Linked DNA regions of Homo sapiens: regions 1 and 2 are each linked to region 3. Evidence: promoter capture Hi-C in human tissues and cell types (Jung and others, 2019). All regions are on one chromosome and are shown on one strand. The core of a region is centred on a gene start or on the middle of the fragment in contact, and the rest is flanking DNA. Distances in the headings are between cores, read along the strand shown.

Region 1 (4,285 bases), core at 63-2,562, 800 kb after region 3:
TGTGCAAGGGGTTGGTGCTGATGTTGTTTAAGGGTCAACTGTATTTGACCTCTAAGGATACATCATAAAAGGCGATGCAGCTTCCACCTGAGTCTTTTTGGACATTTGCATTTGGAGCTCCAAGCCACTATGTAAGGCAGCTGACTGCTCTGAGGCCACCATGCTGTGAGGAAGCCCAAACTAGCCCACGCAGAGATCACATGGGGAGGTCCCGAGACTACATGAAGACAGAGATGCTCAGGCCGCTGACTCACTGCAACCTAGGGGAGACGCCAAACAAGAACCATCTAGCTGAGCCCTCTTTGATTTCCTGACCCACAGAAACCATGAGAGAGAATAACATAGTTGTTATTTTAAGCCACTAAATTTTAGGGTGATTTATTTTGCAGTAATAGGTAACCAGAACACTTGTCATGCCTGTTTTCACCTCCACACCTTTTCTCACCCAGTCCTTCCTGCCTGAGGAAGGGAAAGAGGATTCTTTCCTTCCTTTCCTCCTTTTGGTAACCTCCTCTTCACTGGGATGGGGGTGTGGGCAAGGGAGACCTCAGTGGAGCTGGCATTTGCCTCCAACCCTGAAACTTGCCTGGAGCTGGGCCCACTAACAACACGTGGGAGAGTACAGGGGCTGAGTCTCTGGAGCCAAGGGCTGAGCTAGCAGTGTGTGGGAAGACAGAAAGAGAGGCCTTGGCTCAAGAAAAAAGCTGAAGCTCAGTTCTCAGAAGGGACCCCATGATCAGTGTGAATGCAGCAAGATGGTCAACTTGAGGGTCTGTCCTCTCCCGGTGACAGGAACTATGGGGCGGTGATGATCATGGTGATGCTGATCTGTCCATTGCTGCATTGTGTTTAGCATTTTATATAGTCTCATTTAAGCCTCACAGTAACCTTTTGAGTTAGGTACTATGACTATTCCCGTGTTATAAATGAGGAAACAGAGGCCCAGAAAGAGGAGCAACTTGCCCAAATTCTCACAGTTAGGGGCAGACACGAGATTCGAACTCAGGCTTGTCAGAATCCAGACTCTCAGTCCCAGAAACAAAAGCAGGTGGGAGAGGGTGGGTTAAGAGATTCCAGGCATGAGCCTCGGGAGGCTTCTGCAGCAGAGAATTCCAAATGTGCCTTGATTTGCATTATCACTGTTTTGGTTTGCAAGAAGGAGAAGCTGATCTCCTCCTTGATAAAAATGGAAAAGAACAAGGTAAGAATATGTGCACTCCTAGCTATCAAGATATAAACTTGCAGTAACTAAGACAGTGTGATTATCTTAGTCCATTTAGGCTGTTATAACAAAAATACCATAGATTGGGCAGCTTAAACAACAAACATTTATTTTTCACAATTCTGGAGGCTGGGGAGTCCAAAATACGGCACTAGCAGATTCAGTGTCTGGTGGAGGCCAACATTCAGATTCACAGACAATGTCTTCTCGCTGTTAGGCCTCTGAGCCCAAGCTAAGCCATCATATCCCCTGTGACCTGCACGTACACATCCAGATGGCCGGTTCCTGCCTTAACTGATGACATTCCACCACAAAAGAAGTGAAAATGGCCTGTTCCTGCCTTAACTGATGACATTACCTTGTGAAATTCCTTCTCCTGGCTCATCCTGGCTCAAAAGCTCCCCCGCTGAGCACCTTGTGACCCCCAGCCCTGCTCGCCAGAGAACAATCCCCCTTTGACCGTAATTTTCCTTTACCTACCCAAATCTTATAAAATGGCCCCGCCCCTATCTCCCTTCGCTGACTCTTTTCGGACTCAACCCGCCTGCACCCAGGTGAAATAAACAGCCTTGTTGCTCACACAAAGCCTGTTTGGTGGTCTCTTCACACAGACGTGAGTGAAACTCGCTGTGTACTCCCACAGCAGAAAGTGTGAGAAAGCTCTCTGGGGCCTCTCTTATAAGGGTACCATTCAGGAGGGCACCACCCTCATGACCTAATTACCCCCCAAAGGCTACACATCCTAATATCATCACACTGGGGGATGGGATTTAAATGTGTAAATTTTGGGGGGACACAAGCATTCAGCCCACAATAGTGATATTAAAACAAAGATGGGCAAAAATGCCAGTGGAATGAAACAGAGCTCAATAAATAGAGCTGGATCAACTGAATAATTACACAGTGAAAAAATGAGCCCAGACCCCTACCTCACTCCACATGCAAAAAATTATGGTAGATGGACTTTAGATCTAAATGTGAAAAATAAGAGAAAGCAGTTGTTACTCAAAATAGCCCCAAACTGGTAACAACCCAAATTTTCATCAACAGTAGAACAGATCAATAAATTGTATACTCACACAGCAATAACAAAGGGCAGATTATTACTGCATGCAACAACGTGAATGTATTTCACAATTATAATGTTGAATGAAAGAGGTCAGATACAAAAAGACATACTGTATGATTCTATTTCTATAAAGTTCAAACAGGCAAACCTAACTGATGTTGTTAGATGTTAGGATATGGTTATTTTTTGGGAAGAAGGTAGTGGTAATGAATAGCAGGGGCACAAAGGGAGGTTTCTAGGTTGCTGGCAAGGCTTTAATTATTGAACTTAGTGGTAGTCACAGAGGTATGTTCACTGTGATAATTCATCAAGTAATTCACTTATCATTTGTGCACTTTTCTATATGTGTATTGCAATAAAATAATTTATTTTAAAGAGTAACAGATGACAAATTATCCACAACAAATTGATAAAGGATAATAGCTTTAAAGAGCAGATAAAAATAAGTAAGAAACACTAAGACATCCTCACTAGAAAAATGAGCAAAGGCTATGTGAACAAAAGAGGCATTATAAATGGCTTGTATATACTTGAAAAAAAAATTTAAAACTTGATAGTAGTGAAACATGTTAGAAATTTAAAGCAATGAGAAACCAGTTTTACCAAGCAAATTGATAAAGATTTAATAACAAATAATAGGAACTTTTTCTTTTGGCCACAGTGGAGTAACAGTGACCAGCTTCTTTCTCTCTCTCTCTCTCGCTCTCTCTTACACACACACACACACACACACACACACCCCCCCACCCACACACACATCACCTTAAAAAAGAAAAACAGACAAAATTATATAAAACAATGGTTTCCAGTTATTGGACAACAGGAGCACAGTACAGTGATCTCTGAGTGGAGAGAAACCAAGGAAGACAGCTCTGTGATCACCCATCTTACTTTGTTTGTGTTGAAAGTTCTTTTCAGGCCACAGAACAGGGAGAGGGAGCCCAAAGAGAGACTGGTAGTCTTTTTGAGTTGAGGAGGGAGAATTAAGAATTCATGGAGGCTAGACTTATCAGGCCAAAGTATCAGACAGTAGAATGCTACAGAGTGCTGAAGAGCTATCAAAAGTTCCCTTCAAATCTTAAGCTGAGTATGAATCAGCACATGCATGTGCAGAAACTACCCAAGGCTTTGGAAGGAACCACTGAAAAGGAGTGGAGAGAACAATTACCATAACCCACACAGAGCCTATAATGGTTTTTGTTCACACCAGCCAGAGTGGGAAGACTTCTAACACACACAGCATTAATTAGACTGCTCAGAAGGCTTTTTCCTCATTAGTGGGGCCAAATTAGATCTAGACTAAAAGATGTTCTGTTCCCACATAACAAAGCTTAAAAGCAAGCCTCAAAAAGTACCAAGCTGTTCTCTAGTAATTTAATTGCAGCTCAGAACAAAGTTCAAAAATATTTAAAGAACATCAACAAAATCTAACACCCAATATAAAATTGACAATACATTTAAAAAAAAATTACCAGGCATGTAAAGAAACAGGAAAATGTGACCCATAATGAGCACAAAACTCATTCAATTGAAATGGTTCCAGAAATGACACAGATGATAAAATTGATAGAATGACATTAAAGCAGCTATTAAACAAATACTCTATGCATTCAAGAAGACAAAGAAAAGCATAGGTATGTAAAGGAGAGATATATAATATATAAACAAGCCACAAATCAAACAACTAGAGATTAAAAGTAGAATGGCTGGGATATTAATAAGATTAACAGTAAATTAGACCCAGCAGAAGAACATCCTAGTGAATTTTATGGAGAGCAATTGAAACTACCCAAAATAAAATACAGGGAGTAAAAGGAAGGGGAGGAGGAGAAATCATCCATCAGCTATGGAACAAGGCACTTAATACTTATATGGAGCCCCCAAAGGAGAGGAAAAAAGAAGGGTTGAGACAGACTGAAAATCTATCCAAAGAAATAATGACCAAACATTTAATGAAAACTATTAATCCACAGACCCAAAAACCTCAACCAAGC
Region 2 (3,978 bases), core at 1,182-3,681, 570 kb before region 3:
TGGTGGAAGGTGAAAGGCACTTCTTACATGGCGGCAGCAAGAAAGAGAATGGGAGAAGCGGAAGTGGAAACCTCTTATCAAACCATCAGATCTTGTGAGACTTATTCACTACCACAAGAACAGTATGCAGGGAATCACCCCCATGATTCAATCATCTCCCACTGGGTCCCTCCCACAATATATGGGAATTATGGGAGTATACTTCAAGATGAAATTTAGGTGGAGTCACAGAGCTAAAACATACCAGGGCATATATCATTTTGTATTTTCATCAGCAATGTATAAGTGCTCCATTGCCCCACATACTCATTAGAACTTGGAACTGTTGATTTTTTGTTTTTTACTTTTAGTCATTTTGATGAGTATCCCATTGTGATTAATTTGCAATTCCCTAATGACTAATGATGTTCAGCATCTTTTCATGTGCTTATTGGCCATTTGTCCATCTTTTGGAGAAATATCTATTCAAGCCCTTTACATATTTTTCATTTTATTTTTGAGACAAGGTCTCACTCTGTCACCTGGGCTGAAGTGCAGTGATGTGATCATAACTCATTACAGCCTCAACCTCCCCAGCTCAAGCTATTCTCCTGTCTCAGCCTCCCGAGTAGCTGGGACTACAGGTGAGTGTCACCATGCCTAGCTAATTTTTGTCATTTTTTTGTAGCGACAGAGTTTTGCCATGTTGCCAGAGCTAGTCTCAAACTCTGAGCTCAAGCGAGCCACTCACCTCAGCCTCCCAAAGCGCTGGGACTACAGGCATGAACCACCACTCCCAGCCCCTTTGCACATTTATAAATTGTGTTCTTTTTGGTTTTGTTTTGTTTTAAATTCGGTTTATCTTTTTGTTGTTGGGTTCCTTTCACAATAAGTTAACTTTTGTCAACTGAAAAATAAAAATAAAATTCTATGCCCCCCAACTGACTGAACAGGCCCTCTCTTGGCCAAGGAGACCCTAGAAAAAACTTGGAAGCTGAGTTCCTACTCATGACAGGATGGGAAGTCGGACACACCTCTTTATAACCCCTCCCTCTATAATCGCCATTAGATTTTCTTTCCTAAGGGTTAAACAGAAACCAGCCCTTTTGAAAGACTCACTCCACCAGCCTGATGCTGACCCTCCCATTTGCAGTTTCAATAGAACAACCGACTAGCATTCCTTCCTGATAAGAGATCACCCACCATCCAGGGAGTGGTTCTGGCCAGTCGACAGAGGACGTGCAGTGAGGGTTTTCACATCCCCTGCTTCACCTTTTGAAGTCAAGCGGTAGAAAACTCTACCCTTGGATCATGCTAAGGCCACCATTTTTTAAACATGGGATCCACAGAGAGGCATGAAGCTCAACTGCACATGCACAAATTGCTCCTTTCATAAATATTCGTGACCCCTCTTACAGTTTATTTAACATGTATATTTGGCCACTGTGTTTAGCATAAATCCCTGTCTTATTCTTCCAACCCTGGAAGTGCCTGTTTTTGGCTTCTGACTGGAAGCTAGGCTTCCCAGTCTGTCAAAATGGCTACCATGCAGGTTCAACTCTTTTTTTTTTTTTTTTTTTTTTTTTTTGAGATGATGTCTTGCTCCCAGACTGGAGTGCAGTGGCACAATCTTGGCTCTCTGCAACCTCTGCCTCCTGGGTAAGCAACTCTTCTGCTTCATCTTCCCAAGTAGCTAGGACTACAGGTGCAGGCCACCACATCCAGCTAACTTTTGTATTTTTAGTAGAGATGGAGTTTCACCATGTTGGCCAGCCTGGCCTCAAACTCCTGACCTCAAGTGATCCACCCGCCTCAGCCTCCCAAAGTGCTGGGATTACAGGCATGAGCCACTGTGCCCGGCCAGGTTCAACCCTTTATGAGAAATAAAGTTCATCTGATTGGGCACAGTGGCTCATGCCTGTAATCCCAGCACTTTAGGAGGGCTAGACAGAAGAATCACTTGAACCCAGATGTTCGAGACCAGCTTAGGCAACATAGTGAGCCCCACTATTTCTATTTTTTTTAAACTAAAGAAAAATATGAAGTAAACAGTGCTAAAATAGTGATGGCAATACAGAAATCAGGAACTAGTGGCATGACATTTTGAGAAAGATATTTAAATAAGCTGGAGAGACTCGGTGTCTCCAGCTTTAAAACAGAAATCAGTCTCTGCCACTTCATAGGTGCTAGAACAAAAGAGACTTGTTCCAAATGAGATGACGCATGTGAAGCGCTTACCCAGTGCTCGGCAAGGGGAAGCACTCTCTAAACGTTAGCAAATACCATGGTAGGACACAAGGCCCCTGACTCTCCGCTTTCAGCTTACTGAAGATCCTCAAAACCAACAGCACACAGCTTCCAGCGCATGCTCCTTTCCCCAAGACCTTGTGGGGGAACCCGCCGCCAGCGCGGAGCCACCGTGACTCGTAGCCTGACTTCCGTTTCCGGGGGCGGCTTCCGGCGGCGTGACCTGACCGCAAGAGGCCAATGGAGTGTGGGAGCTGAAAGGGTCTTCGCTGGCGGCCGGTAACTGGCGGCGGTTGGGAACGGCCGAGTGTGGCTCTTCTGGTGTTTCAGCTTGGGGAGAGAGGGGTGGCCTTCCTCTTGCAGTTGAGGCCGGCGCCGAGCCGGACTTCAGGCGGATCTCGTGGCGGAGCCCATCTTGCTCCCTCTCCCAGGCCTTTACCCGCTCCCTAGGATTCCCGGGCCCTGTAGGTGGGAGTTGGGAGACGTGAGTTCTCTTTCATTCTGCGCCTCTCATTGGCTCTCTGACCTTGTGCGGAACGCGTCCTTTAGCTGACCTCAGCTGCATTTTTTAGAAGATGGAGATTGTATTCACAGTGACTGTCAGCTTTTTAACGGCGGGAACTGACGTAGTGTTAAACACTGTCGTGTATCGCTGGCACAGCACAAGGACATTATAGGTATTCTGTACTCAATTAAGTTATTTTGAGTCACAGACCTTTTGAAAATCTCGTGTAAGCTATGGCCCCTCCACCTCTCTAATACTTCCCCCGGCCCCCACCCCAAGCACACACAAAAGCTTATGCATAGGAAATTTGTTTTACTATTTCGGATTACTTCCAAGATCTCTCTCCTGATGCCCATCTATGGATCCCAGAGTCTGGCAAGTAGTAGGCGTTTGAACATTTGTAATCATTAGATAGTAAGTATTCAGTTAACCATTTTTATTTTTAATTTTTTCTTTTTTTTTTTTTTTTTTTTTGAGACAGGGCCTCACTGTGTCACCCAGGCTGGAGTGCAGTCCTCCCACCTCAGCCTCCCAAGTAGCTGGACTCCAGGCGCCCACCACCACGCCCAGCTATTTTTTGTGTTTTTGGTAGAGATGAGATTTTGCCATCTTACGCAGATTGGTCTCGAACTCTTGGCCTCAAGCAATCTACTCACCTCAGCTCCCTAAAGTGCTGGGATTACAGGCATGAGCCAGTGTGCCCAGCCCAGTTAATCATTTTTAAATGCATGAAATGCTATTTCACAGGAGGGAAGAAGATAGATAGCCTATTAATAAGTTTTAATTATTGGCCTAACCAGGTACTACTCTCACTTGTCTCCTAACGACTCTAGGAAAGAGGTATTACTAATTACTTAATTACATTTGAAGGTTTGGGAGAATTAATTTGCCATAAGTCATTCAACCTATGATGGTGGAGGCAAGAATTCAAACCTGTATCTATCTGAAACTCCAAAAGCCCCATATTATTATTATTATTATTATTTATTTTATTTATTTATTTATTTTTTTGAGACAGAGTCTTGTTCTGTTACCCCAGCCGGAGTGCAGTGGCATGATCTCAGCTCACTGCAATCTCCACCTCCCGGATTCAAGCAATTCTCCTCCCTCAGCCTCCCAAGTAGCTGGGATTACAGGCTCCCACCACCACACCTGGCTAATGTTTGTATTTTTAGTAGAGACGGGGTTTCACCATGTGGGCCAGGCTGGTCTTGAACTCCTGACCTCAGGCAATCTGCCCGCCTCGG
Region 3 (4,300 bases), core at 1,801-4,300:
GGGAGATATGCATAGTTGATGCTGGGAATTTGGAGATCAGGCCACCAGAGCTTGGTGAATATTGGAACACCTGGCTGGTGCCCTGGATTTGGTTCTGTTTGTATCTTACAGCTATGGGACGATGACTTGGGAGCGCTATGGGCCTGCCCCATGGACAAATGTGAGTATTGTAAGAACTGCCTTTCCTTTCTGTACCAGGAGTGGGGATCTTGACAGGGACCACTCTTGGGCACAGCACATGCAATGGCCTTGTCCTTCCCTGAGATCAGATAAACAGAGGGTCATTCCTTCATTCACTCAAAAAATGATGAGAGCTTGCAGGGATCGCAGGAACACCAAAAATATAAATCCTTGCCCCCGCCCCACCCCTAGAAGACTAGCAAGACATGAGCCAGTCACTTACATTTAAAGTGGGAGCTACTGAAGCACCACCAAGTGTTCAGTGCTGTAAATGCATACAATGTGGACCTGACCTGGGTGGGGTGAGGGGTGAGGGGCTCAGGGGGAAGGTTCCAGCAAAACTCTGAAGACTGAGCTAGGGGAAGGGGGTAGAGATACAGGGTCTTGGACAGGCAGGTTTCTGTCATGAGATAAAGATGCAGGAGACATGTAGGGGATTTGGATCTTATGTTGAGAGCAGCAGGAGCTACGATCAAATTTTTATATATTTCACACACACACACACACATATATATATATATATATATATATATATATATACTTATTTTTTTATTTATTTTTGAGGCAGAGTCTCACTCTGTTGCCCAGGCTGGAGTGCAATGGCGCGATCTCGGCTAACTGCAACCTCTGCCTCCCGGGTTCAAGCAATTCTCTACCTCAGCCTCCCGGGTAGCTGGGATTAATAGGCGCCTGCCACCATGCCCTGCTAATTTTTGTATTTTTAGTAGAGATGGGGTTTCACCATCTTGGCCAGGCTGGTCTTGAACTCCTGACCTCGTGATCCGCCCGCGTCGGCCTCCCAAAGTGCTGGGATTATAGTCGTGAGTCACCGCACCTGGCCCAAATTTATATTTTTAAAAGATCTCTGAGGCTGTCATGAATCAATTCAAGGCAAATCAATTGGAGGTAAAAAAAAAAAAAAAAAGACAGGGCAGGGACACCAGGTAGTTGCAGACACCCAGGACAGCAAGATCAAGGGCCCAGCAACCCTAGCTTAGGGGAGAAAAACAGCTGACATTTTAGCACTTAAGATGCTCGGCATTGTGTTAAGTATGTATTAACACATTGTGTTAAGCTTTATATGTATTAATATATTTAGTCCTCACACCAACCCTATGACACAGGTACAACTTTACAGAGGAGAAAACTGAGGCAGAGGGTGACATTACTTATTCAAAGACCCCTAAACAGATGGAGCTATATTCATCCACTGGCTCTGACACTGTGCTGTGGACTCTGGGCAAATCATTTCTTCGTTTTTTGTTTTGTTTTGTTTTGTTTTGAGAGGAGTCTCACCCTGTCGCCCAGGCTGGAGTGCAATGGCGCGATCTCGGCTCACTGCAACCTCTGCCTCCCGAGTTCAAGCGATTCTCTTGCCTCAGCCTCCCGAGTAGCTGGGATTACAGGCGTGTGCCACCACGCCCGGCTAATTTTTTGTATTTTTAGTAGAGACGGGGTTTCACCGTGTTAGCCAGGATGGTCTTGATGTCCTGACCTCGTGATCTGCCCGCCTCGGCCTCCCGAAGTGCTGGGATTATATAAAGGCATGAGCCACCGCACCCGGCCCAATTCATTTCTGTTAAGTCTCAGTTTTTCTTCTCTGTGGAGGGTAAGTTTCTAACTCTTCTTCTCTGGGTCTCCCAGACATCCACAAGCGCTGGGCCCTCGTGTGGCTGGCCTGCCTACTCTTTGCCGCTGCGCTTTCCCTCATCCTCCTTCTCAAAAAGGATCACGCGAAAGGTGAGCGCTTCCCGGCTCCCCATTCCCCTGGGGGAGGACCAGAGTGGCTGTGGGAGTTCTCCGAGGGAAAGCGGCGGCCGAGCTCACTGGCTGCCTCCGCCCCTCTCCCCTAACAGGGTGGCTGAGGCTCTTGAAACAGGACGTCCGCTCGGGGGGTGAGTGGGAGCAAGCGCTGGGCGGAGGGCCGCCCCCGGGGAGCCAGGCCTGTGCCAGCTCACCTCTTCCCTCCCCATCTGTTTTCTCCGGCAGCGGCCGCCAGGGGCCGCGCGGCTCTGCTCCTCTACTCAGCCGATGACTCGGGTTTCGAGCGCCTGGTGGGCGCCCTGGCGTCGGCCCTGTGCCAGCTGCCGCTGCGCGTGGCCGTAGACCTGTGGAGCCGTCGTGAACTGAGCGCGCAGGGGCCCGTGGCTTGGTTTCACGCGCAGCGGCGCCAGACCCTGCAGGAGGGCGGCGTGGTGGTCTTGCTCTTCTCTCCCGGTGCGGTGGCGCTGTGCAGCGAGTGGCTACAGGATGGGGTGTCCGGGCCCGGGGCGCACGGCCCGCACGACGCCTTCCGCGCCTCGCTCAGCTGCGTGCTGCCCGACTTCTTGCAGGGCCGGGCGCCCGGCAGCTACGTGGGGGCCTGCTTCGACAGGCTGCTCCACCCGGACGCCGTACCCGCCCTTTTCCGCACCGTGCCCGTCTTCACACTGCCCTCCCAACTGCCAGACTTCCTGGGGGCCCTGCAGCAGCCTCGCGCCCCGCGTTCCGGGCGGCTCCAAGAGAGAGCGGAGCAAGTGTCCCGGGCCCTTCAGCCAGCCCTGGATAGCTACTTCCATCCCCCGGGGACTCCCGCGCCGGGACGCGGGGTGGGACCAGGCGCGGGACCTGGGGCGGGGGACGGGACTTAAATAAAGGCAGACGCTGTTTTTCTACCCATGTGGCCCACACGCGTCTCCGTTTCAGTGGCGGGGCTGGCAAACGTCATTCCCTAGCCCCGCGGCCCTTTAAAGCCCGGACAGGTGCAGCTCGGTGCCGCCTCTGGTTGGCTGGCGTGGGGTGACGTAATGGCACATGGCCCGTCGCCATTGGCTGGGCGGCAAGCTCCGCCCCCTGGACTGCGGCGCGGGTGGGGGTTGTGCGTTTTACGCAGGCTGTGGCAGCGACGCGGTGAGGAGACGGCCCACGGCGCCCGCGGGCTGGGGCGGTCGCTTCTTCCTTCTCCGTGGCCTACGAGGGTCTGGATCCTTCTCTGCCGGCTCGTGGGCCGTGCCTTTGCCCTTCTGCGAGGCCCTGAATCTGATCCCTTCCCTTCATATCCGGATCCGGGCTCCTCCCTCCAAGCCCGGGGTTCCGGACACCTCCCCCAAGACAACCCCTCTGGCCTCCTCTCCTTCAGTACTTGGAATCTGATCTCTTCTCCCTAATTCTGCGGATCCGGCCCCTAATATTCTTTATCAGACCCTCAGACAAGAGGCTGACTTCTGCCCCCTTGTCAAGGAGCGAGGCCACTTTCCTCTCCACCCCATGCTAGCGAGGATAACTTATTTCTCTTCTGGAATTGCATCTTATGCGCCTTTCCCCACCCATCCCCACAGCCCCTGCAATACCCAGTTTGGCCTCTTTTGCTTGTAATAACGCAGATCCCAGCGCCACGGCACCTTAGAACAGACCTTTTTCTTTCTCGCGTGGGGCCTGACTCCTTCAGTGAAGCCTCTCCACGCCCTCTATCTGCAGGTCCCCAGCCTGGGTAAAGATGGCCCCATGGCCCCCGAAGGGCCTAGTCCCAGCTATGCTCTGGGGCCTCAGCCTCTTCCTCAACCTCCCAGGACCTATCTGGCTCCAGCCCTCTCCACCTCCCCAGTCTTCTCCCCCGCCTCAGCCCCATCCGTGTCATACCTGCCGGGGACTGGTTGACAGCTTTAACAAGGTGGGTGCACCGGCAGCCTCGTTAGAGGGGAACACAGCGATTTAGAGTGGGGAACTCTGGGATGCAAATCTGCGTGGATTTAAGTTTCATCTTGGTCTCTTACTAGTTGTATGGCCCTAGGCAGGTTGCCTTTCTGTGCCTCAGTTTCCTAGTCAGTAGAACAGTGAAGTGCTAGCATGTGCCAGGCACTGTACTTAGCTATTACTAATTTTCTGTTTCCAGGGCCTGGAGAGAACCATCCGGGACAACTTTGGAGGTGGAAACACTGCCTGGGAGGAAGAGAATTTGTCCAAATACAAAGACAGGTAAGGGGCTGCTGGGGGAAGGGGTGTATATTCCCCTCCCCGCCAAATCTCTGCTCTGCTGGTGTAGGGCTAGGAACTCTTGGGGAGCACTTATTCATTCAACAAATAGCACTGAACATCTATAGTATAGCAGTAAACAAGGCAAGCAAAATGCCCCCTTCCTGGA

What was found. Contacts are between HindIII fragments. The study calls those that stand out against the background at their distance.
Region 1: a contact is called between a fragment that was not itself captured here and the fragment with the promoter of CRELD1 in region 3, in 1 of the 25 tissues and cell types used here (dorsolateral prefrontal cortex).
Region 2: the fragment with the promoter of THUMPD3 here is called in contact with the fragment with the promoter of CRELD1 in region 3 in 2 of the 25 tissues and cell types used here (hippocampus and spleen).

The regions. Positions count from the first base shown.
Region 1 is chr3:10,729,044-10,733,328 of GRCh38, forward strand. No RefSeq gene overlaps it. Among named protein-coding and RNA genes, the nearest start is that of LINC00606, 33 kb to the right of the region's middle. The HindIII fragment of the contact is 5,529 bases long and covers 1-4,077 here.
Region 2 is chr3:9,360,623-9,364,600 of GRCh38, forward strand. THUMPD3 (THUMP domain 3 tRNA guanosine methyltransferase) reads left to right here and starts at 2,432. Exons shown (of 10, transcript NM_001114092.2): 1 at 2,432-2,505. It also overlaps a transcript of SRGAP3 not described here. RefSeq lists enhancers at 2,162-2,371, 2,592-2,651, 2,722-2,801, 2,822-2,881. The HindIII fragment of the contact is 11,864 bases long and covers 1-3,978 here.
Region 3 is chr3:9,930,784-9,935,083 of GRCh38, forward strand. It overlaps CRELD1 (CRELD disulfide isomerase 1), which reads left to right and starts at 3,051. Exons shown (of 11, transcript NM_001077415.3): 1 at 3,051-3,137; 2 at 3,637-3,829; 3 at 4,052-4,134. The coding sequence starts at 3,656. It overlaps IL17RC (interleukin 17 receptor C), which reads left to right. Exons shown (of 19, transcript NM_153460.4): 16 at 112-160; 17 at 1,825-1,920; 18 at 2,037-2,075; 19 at 2,170-2,838. The coding sequence ends at 2,810. RefSeq lists silencers at 2,023-2,082, 2,663-2,992 and an enhancer at 3,093-3,462. The HindIII fragment of the contact is 22,722 bases long and covers 1-4,300 here.